2 separate regions of the Homo sapiens genome follow, and region 2 is linked to region 1. Evidence: promoter capture Hi-C in 16 types of primary human blood cells and fetal thymus (Javierre and others, 2016). All regions are on one chromosome and are shown on one strand. The core of a region is centred on a gene start or on the middle of the fragment in contact, and the rest is flanking DNA. Distances in the headings are between cores, read along the strand shown. Region 1 holds the start of MIF (macrophage migration inhibitory factor). Region 2 overlaps CABIN1 (calcineurin binding protein 1).

Evidence for each region. Contacts are between HindIII fragments. The CHiCAGO score rates a contact against its expected background, and 5 or more counts as called.
Region 2: a fragment that was not itself captured here is called in contact with the fragment with the promoter of MIF in region 1 in 2 of 17 cell types (endothelial precursors and megakaryocytes); the score reaches 6.0 in endothelial precursors.

What each region holds. Positions count from the first base shown.
Region 1 is chr22:23,892,382-23,896,597 of GRCh38, forward strand. It overlaps MIF (macrophage migration inhibitory factor), which reads left to right and starts at 2,002. Exons shown (of 3, transcript NM_002415.2): 1 at 2,002-2,201; 2 at 2,391-2,563; 3 at 2,659-2,842. The coding sequence starts at 2,094. The coding sequence ends at 2,725. MIF-AS1 (MIF antisense RNA 1) reads right to left here. Exons shown (of 3, transcript NR_038911.1): 2 at 3,448-3,729; 3 at 1,329-3,151. RefSeq lists enhancers at 1,677-2,484, 2,485-3,292. The HindIII fragment of the contact is 28,199 bases long and covers 1-4,216 here.
Region 2 is chr22:24,159,472-24,163,687 of GRCh38, forward strand. The region is part of intron 29 of CABIN1 (calcineurin binding protein 1); the gene reads left to right. Among named protein-coding and RNA genes, the nearest start is that of SUSD2, 20 kb to the right of the region's middle. The HindIII fragment of the contact is 7,010 bases long and covers 1-4,216 here.

The DNA.
Region 1 (4,216 bases), core at 752-3,251:
TTGAGAGGGGCTTCTGGCCAAGTTAGGTCAGAGCCACACTCTCTTACAAACTAAGGATATTTAAGGGTTTTGGAGGGGGTTCTTATCATAGGTTCTGAATGTTTCTGTGTGAGGGAAAGTTTATTGCGGGGATGGAATGTCTCTGGTCAGAAGGGAGGCTGTCTCCGGGTTGGCATGTTTCTGGTCAGAGAAGGGTTTATCTTAGGGTTGGAATGTTTCTGGTTATGCTGACATTAGCTATTAGGCTGATATTTTCGGGCTGGATTTAGGCGGCTTTTAATTAAGGGGGAACTTAGAATGGTGGTGTTTGTTCAAGATGGCAATGCTCCTGCTCCGTCACTGGCCAGGTAAGGCAACCCTTTGTTATGGTAACAACCTGAGATTGGCAGGGGCTCACCTCCAGGGGCAGCTCATGTGCTTGCTGGCGAGGCTGCACCTTGTCATTCAGGTTCACAGGGCACAGGTCAACCAGGCCCTGGCTCTTCAGTCTTCTGCCTGGAGTGACTTATGTAATTCTGCTCAGCTTTCATAGGGCACAGGGAGTCGGGGCTAACTCTGCTGCCTGGGGCTGGAAACAGACTCCTCCCTTGAGGAGCAGCAGTCCACCATAGGGAAGTCACAGTGGTCCAGGCCAAAGGGGATGCAGGTAGTGTAGACTAGGCGGTAGTTCAGGGAATGGAGAGAAGTGGGAATAAAGGGATAGTGAAAGGAAGCATATTTTACTGGCAGGTGATGAGGTGTAGGAGGACAAGTCATACATTTGGACTTTACAGAGCAGTGGACACTCAGTCAGCTGCTGTCAGCGCCTGGGACTTAGGGGAGTGCCCCTGGCTGGAGACATGGTATGGAGTGCCATCAGTTAGGGAGCCCTGGGCACAGGTAAGAGAAGGTGTGACACCAGGAGGGAAAGAGTCTGGGGCCCAGCTGCAGGAACCAATACCCATAGGCTATTTGTATAAATGGGCCATGGGGCCTCCCAGCTGGAGGCTGGCTGGTGCCACGAGGGTCCCACAGGCATGGGTGTCCTTCCTATATCACATGGCCTTCACTGAGACTGGTATATGGATTGCACCTATCAGAGACCAAGGACAGGACCTCCCTGGAAATCTCTGAGGACCTGGCCTGTGATCCAGTTGCTGCCTTGTCCTCTTCCTGCTATGTCATGGCTTATCTTCTTTCACCCATTCATTCATTCATTCATTCAGCAGTATTAGTCAATGTCTCTTGTATGCCTGGCACCTGCTAGATGGTCCCCGAGTTTACCATTAGTGGAAAAGACATTTAAGAAATTCACCAAGGGCTCTATGAGAGGCCATACACGGTGGACCTGACTAGGGTGTGGCTTCCCTGAGGAGCTGAAGTTGCCCAGAGGCCCAGAGAAGGGGAGCTGAGCACGTTTGAACCACTGAACCTGCTCTGGACCTCGCCTCCTTCCCTTCGGTGCCTCCCAGCATCCTATCCTCTTTAAAGAGCAGGGGTTCAGGGAAGTTCCCTGGATGGTGATTCGCAGGGGCAGCTCCCCTCTCACCTGCCGCGATGACTACCCCGCCCCATCTCAAACACACAAGCTCACGCATGCGGGACTGGAGCCCTTGAGGACATGTGGCCCAAAGACAGGAGGTACAGGGGCTCAGTGCGTGCAGTGGAATGAACTGGGCTTCATCTCTGGAAGGGTAAGGGGCCATCTTCCGGGTTCACCGCCGCATCCCCACCCCCGGCACAGCGCCTCCTGGCGACTAACATCGGTGACTTAGTGAAAGGACTAAGAAAGACCCGAGGCGAGGCCGGAACAGGCCGATTTCTAGCCGCCAAGTGGAGAACAGGTTGGAGCGGTGCGCCGGGCTTAGCGGCGGTTGCTGGAGGAACGGGCGGAGTCGCCCAGGGTCCTGCCCTGCGGGGGTCGAGCCGAGGCAGGCGGTGACTTCCCCACTCGGGGCGGAGCCGCAGCCTCGCGGGGGCGGGGCCTGGCGCCGGCGGTGGCGTCACAAAAGGCGGGACCACAGTGGTGTCCGAGAAGTCAGGCACGTAGCTCAGCGGCGGCCGCGGCGCGTGCGTCTGTGCCTCTGCGCGGGTCTCCTGGTCCTTCTGCCATCATGCCGATGTTCATCGTAAACACCAACGTGCCCCGCGCCTCCGTGCCGGACGGGTTCCTCTCCGAGCTCACCCAGCAGCTGGCGCAGGCCACCGGCAAGCCCCCCCAGGTTTGCCGGGAGGGGACAGGAAGAGGGGGGTGCCCACCGGACGAGGGGTTCCGCGCTGGGAGCTGGGGAGGCGACTCCTGAACGGAGCTGGGGGGCGGGGCGGGGGGAGGACGGTGGCTCGGGCCCGAAGTGGACGTTCGGGGCCCGACGAGGTCGCTGGGGCGGGCTGACCGCGCCCTTTCCTCGCAGTACATCGCGGTGCACGTGGTCCCGGACCAGCTCATGGCCTTCGGCGGCTCCAGCGAGCCGTGCGCGCTCTGCAGCCTGCACAGCATCGGCAAGATCGGCGGCGCGCAGAACCGCTCCTACAGCAAGCTGCTGTGCGGCCTGCTGGCCGAGCGCCTGCGCATCAGCCCGGACAGGTACGCGGAGTCGCGGAGGGGCGGGGGAGGGGCGGCGGCGCGCGGCCAGGCCCGGGACTGAGCCACCCGCTGAGTCCGGCCTCCTCCCCCCGCAGGGTCTACATCAACTATTACGACATGAACGCGGCCAATGTGGGCTGGAACAACTCCACCTTCGCCTAAGAGCCGCAGGGACCCACGCTGTCTGCGCTGGCTCCACCCGGGAACCCGCCGCACGCTGTGTTCTAGGCCCGCCCACCCCAACCTTCTGGTGGGGAGAAATAAACGGTTTAGAGACTAGGAGTGCCTCGGGGTTCCTTGGCTTGCGGGAGGAATTGGTGCAGAGCCGGGATATTGGGGAGCGAGGTCGGGAACGGTGTTGGGGGCGGGGGTCAGGGCCGGGTTGCTCTCCTCCGAACCTGCTGTTCGGGAGCCCTTTTGTCCAGCCTGTCCCTCCTACGCTCCTAACAGAGGAGCCCCAGTGTCTTTCCATTCTATGGCGTACGAAGGGATGAGGAGAAGTTGGCACTCTGCCCTGGGCTGCAGACTCGGGATCTAAGGCGCTCTGCCCGCCGGAATCCGTTGTACCTAGGGCCACCACGTGGGGTGCTGGAGGTGAGCCGACCACGGAAGAGGGGGAGGAGGAGTTGGAGTTGGGAGGAGTCCGAGGTCTTCTAGGCCTAGACCTTTCTCTCAGCCCCACCTTCCCCAGCCTTCTTGTTGGGCAGAGGGTAGCCAGAGGACAGAAAGATCCCACCCAGAGCCACTCACTGCCATCCACTTTGTTAGGTGACTTCAGGAGAGTTTTCAGGCGGGTGGGTGGGGGAGGTGCAGAGTTCTTGGTCATACCGCCCCGTCCACCCCCGAACCCCACGCCTTGGGTTCTGCTCCCCTCAGACACCCACCAAGCCTCCGCCACAGCAGTTCCCTGAGGAAATTGGGCGTGGGGTTTCCATTGGGACCGTTCGTGTTCTGTGGTGCCACAGACATGTCTGTAAAACCTTCAGTTATGTTTGGGCGCAGTGGCACAAGCCTGTGATCCCGGCACTTTGGGAGGTGGAGGTGAGTGGAGTGTGACTCCTCTGCTTCTCTCAGTCTCCAGCCACATCTCGTCTCCAGTCCCCTGTTCACTCGGTCATCCCGCGCAGTACTGGACAGCGAGCTCTCCTTCCAGAAGAGCAATGGGGCTGGGTGGGGTGAAGATTAGGAAGAGGAAGGAGAATAGAAGCTCCAGGGAGTCTGGAAGGGTGGCACCCATCTTGGGATGGGGCACCCCTTCCATGAAGGTCTCTAAAGCAAGGCCCTCCTCAGCTTACTCCCTGCCAGCCGAGGGCCTCAGTCTCATTGTTAACTCAGTGAGAGGGCGGTGGAGCCCCTCGTCTACCTCCCAGCTGGGGGAGACATGGGGGGCATGGGATGGCTCCAGCTGTAGCGGGAAGGTCCCACTCCTCTCAGCCTGGCTTTCAGGCTTGAGGTTTCCTTCTTGGATCTGAGTACCTGTGGTGTAACAGGCACCCTCCTCGGCCCTGGCCTTTATCACATCCCCTCAGCTCCTGGGTGCCCCCAGCCCCAGCCTCCCAAGGCCTGAGGCTGAGCTTTGCCCAGGACCCCCAGTTCCCCCCACAACAAACTCTTTCTGCCTCGGGCCCCACACCCCACCAAGCCCTGGCTGGC
Region 2 (4,216 bases), core at 1,147-3,646, 270 kb after region 1:
TCCCTTGTCAGGCCAGGTGCCCTGGGTCTCCCAGGTGGCTCCTGGCACCTCATGGCCTGTTCCTTCCTCAGCACCCCTGTGCAGCGCCCAGGCAGCTCCTTCACAGCCATTCTGTCTACTCCCAAGTATGGTTCCTCCCTCTTCTGCCCTCTTGCTTGAGCCTCACGTGGCATCCCAGCTGGGCATGGCCCTGGGAATGACAGAATGGGGCAGGGGGTTGCATCTGAATCCTGTGGGTGTGGCAGCAGGGGACAGCTGGAAAAGGCCAGCAGAGAGCTTGCTTAGAGGCCATTTCCTGCAACATTGCCCAAGGGACTTAATTATGACACCCTGAGGCACCCATGGTGCTGGTGGAAGACACTGGCCACCTGCCAGCCACCCCGTCCACAGGCAGGCATTCCAGTGGCAGCCTGCCCCTGCAATGGGCCTTTGCAAGTCTTAAGAGGCACCTTTTCAAAACCGAGGTGAACTGGCATCACTGCATTCTCCATGCTTCCATTTCTACATCTGTAAAACAGGGAGGCTGCCAATTTCTTGTTCCTCTGAGTGTTAAGCAGGGGTGTAGGAAGAGACTTGAGGTGGGCGAGTCTGGCCCCTGGGTCCTGTCCCACTTTGCATCACTAGGCAGCCTTGGCAGGTCACCTGAACTCAGTTTCCCTCTCTGGAAAATGAGGGGTGAGTTGATTACATACTCAGGTTGTCCCTCCCAGTGTAGACATAGGATGAATCTCTATGTCCCTACTCAGCCCACACCTGACCCTCGTCCACTCTGTGACAAGCTCGTGCCTTGGGTCTGAGTACTGTTCTGACTGGCCTGCTCCTCTTGCTTACCCTTCTTTCTTGCCTTGGAATTTCCAGGGGCACTTGATTTCCTGAAGAGCCTTTGCCTGTGCCCTAGAAGTGGAGGAAGCTCTAGAAGGAGTCATGACTGAAAGGTGGGGTCCGCCAAGGTGACAGATAGAGCTGGGAACCCTCAGCTCAGGGAGCCTCAGAACAGCCTTGGGCTGTGCCACTAAAAATGGCCCAAGCAGTGACCCAGCAGCCAGCAGTGGGGTTTACAATGAGAATCAGAACAGTGTTTGAATTTGTGGCATCAGGCTGTCGAGCCCCGGGTTGGCCCTGGCTGAGTGAAAGGCTGTGTCTGGCAGAAAAGAGAGCCCCTGCCCCTCCAGGAGTAAGCTCCCCTGAGACCACAGTGTGCTGGAGACAGCATGAGCCATGAGCCATGGGCCTGGGCATGGCCTTGGCCTGTTGGCCGGGAATAGCAGTGTTCTATAACTTCAGGGACACTTGTCACCTCGAAGTGGTGCCACCTGCCAAGACTGCACAGCCCTCCTGCCCCCAGGCACTTCACCCTGCTTCCCAGCCCCCTCATAAATGGACAGGGCAAGAGCACAGGCTGGCCCGGCAGCATCCTACCACCTCCACTTAACCAGCTCTCAGTTCCCCCAGGAAAGTCTTCGTGGGTTCCCAAATCATAGCAGTCATGCCCTCCCTCTGTGGACCCCTAGGCTCACTCTACCATGGGACTCAGTGTTTGAGGCTCTGTTTCCTCAAGAGCAGAGGGAAGACCACCAAAGTCTTAAGGCTGTAGGCAGGGTTTGGTAACTTGTATCAGGCACTCAGCTTAGAGTCTGGGGCTTCATAAATTATTCAGATTGTTAAAATCTCTCTCTGTGACCTCATCTGCCAGTGAGGAGCCTAGAGCCGTTCTGAAGGGTTGGGGGATTGACTGAGATGCCTGGAAAGAGATGCTTGGCATGGAGGGGAAGCCTCAAGCACAATCTCAGTGTCTTTAAGTCCTCTGAGGCTATTGGTGTGCACCCCCAGCTGCCCTCAACTCTATAAGCAAGCATTATCCCAGCCACTGTGGCCATCAGGGAACCCAGCCCTGGTGACACCAGGGCCCAGGAATCAAGTGGGGCAAATCTGAAGACAGCAAGTGTGCCTGTGGAACTGGGAGAGGCGAGGCAAGGGGTACGGCCAGAGCAGCGGGACCCAGGGCTGAGGGAGAACTAGGAGAGGGCCAGAGGAGACCCTCCTCGCGGCGACCCTGCTTCTCTCAGCTGCTACTTATGGCCCCTGCCCATCTATGATCCTGCCTCTGCCTTTCCCTCAGATGCCGTGGGGGTGTTGGCCTGGTGCTGGCTCCCTCCACCTGCCCTCAGCCAGGCCTCTTGGTCACTGCTGCCTATGCCCTTCTTTTCTGGCCCTGACTTAGCTTTATCCAAGCTCACCCCTGGCACATTCTCCACACCCTCCCTGAGGCCCGAACGTGAGTCCCTGGGCTGAATGCAGTGGGGCTTCTGCTGTGGCAGTTGGAACCTGGCCATGCCCCTTCCTCCTGTGTGGGCCGTGGTGAGGAAAACCAGGTGAAGCAGGGGCTGTCCCTTGTACCTGTCCCACTCCAGGAGACCCTCCTCAGCACCTTGGTTCTCTAGGAGCTTCATAGCCCTCCACAGGCCCGGTGTTAGAGGGACAGTGGAGGGAGAGGGCTGCTGTGGCTACTGCCCCTCTGTGGGGAACCGCTGTGTCCAGGTCATCCTGGGGCTGCCAGTATCATCCTTCTCATGGGTCTCTTGCTGCAAACACAGAAGCCCAGCTCCACCTGGTGTAGGCAGAAAGCCAGTTGGCTTGCTACCACCCTGCTGGCTCGTGACTCTGCCTGGTGGCTTCACTCTTCAGACCAGCTTTCTCTGGAGGCCAGCCTCATGGCCATAGGAAGTCCCCTCACCGTTCGGGAGGTATGTCCATCTGCACACCGCCCCAGGCCACAGAGAAGAGGGGTTATTCCTAAAGGCTCTCATTAGGAGGGGAAGCCTGACTGGGATCCTGGGGCCCATCTGCTGGCTGAATTCCCATGGCTGGTGGTGGGTCTTAGGCCTGGCCGAGCAGGCAAGGGGGCCAATCCTGGGGGCAGGGAAAGGACAAGCCCACAACAGAAGGGGCTTCTGGGAATAGTGCCCAGTGCAAGGTAAATAAACATAGGAGCCCCCATACTGGGGCATGTGAATGAAGATACAGTAAAGAGATGAACAAGGGCACACTAGCTGGCCTGACCCTGCCCGGGAAACGTGCCCTTCAGCACACTGTTACCAGAAAAAGGCCAAGCAAGATGCCAGAATGAAACCAGAGCACATGCAAATGTAAAATGCTGCCTTTCAAGCCTCTCAGGGCTGGCTGGGGAAGTTTTGAGAGTCACAATAGCATGGGGGTGGCCAAGCGGGCGGCGGTGTCTATGGTTCCCTTCTGATTTTCCATGGACTCACTGCCTGATTTGTTTGGTCTTCCATCCTTTCTGAAATCAGCAGTGTTATGTTACAAAAGGAAACGGAAAGGAGATAGGGATCCAAACTGTGCTGGTGTGTGTGATGCAAACTAGACCCGTCCTCACGGGTGTGTCTGTTGGTGTCTATGTGCCCTGGGAGGTGCAGGGATGGGAGGGTCTTCAGCGGGACGTACTGCTGCAGCACAGCGGATGGAGACCCAGGAGACAGTGTCTGCCCATTCTGGTGCCTACTGTAGATAGACCCTGTCTGTTGGAAAGCAGGTGTCTTTTCATAAGCTGCTTCAGGATCCACATCTGCATGGTAGGAAGATGCAGCATTGATGTTTGCTGCCCTGGATGTGGATAGCCTCAGTACCCTGGTTTTGTCCTTTTCAGGCACTGCCAGGAAGTAGAAGGTGGCTGCTGGCCTCCACATAGTCCCCCAGCCTGCAGGTGGACCCTCCATGTCACAACAGGAGCCAGTGTAGAGGCCACAGGGTCTCAAGGCTGCGAGTTTTAAACTCCTCTCAGGCCTTAACAGCTCAGGGCTGGAGGTGCCCTGGCTTTCCTCCCAGGGCTGCTAGAGCAGGGTGGGCCCACACCTGTGTACAGATACTGTGGATAATCAGCAAGGACCCACAGGGACAGGGCCCTGAGAGGGGTACCACCTAGACATCCTGCAGTGGTCCCTGTAGCTGGGGGCCCAAGTCCCCAGAATCCTATACTGCAGCATGATGTGGGCCAGGCCCCATGCCAAGGAGAAAGCAATGTCACTCATAACCTTGGTCCATTCTGGGCAGCAGTTTCTTCAGCGTGTTGGCTGCAGGGACCCATCTAGGAGCCAGTTCACTTATTCCAGGCCCCTGAGGTCCCACCCCAGAGATGGGCCTCCTTAATGCCTGTTTCCTCATCACTCACTCCCTGCTTTCCCCACACCCTGCCTGGACC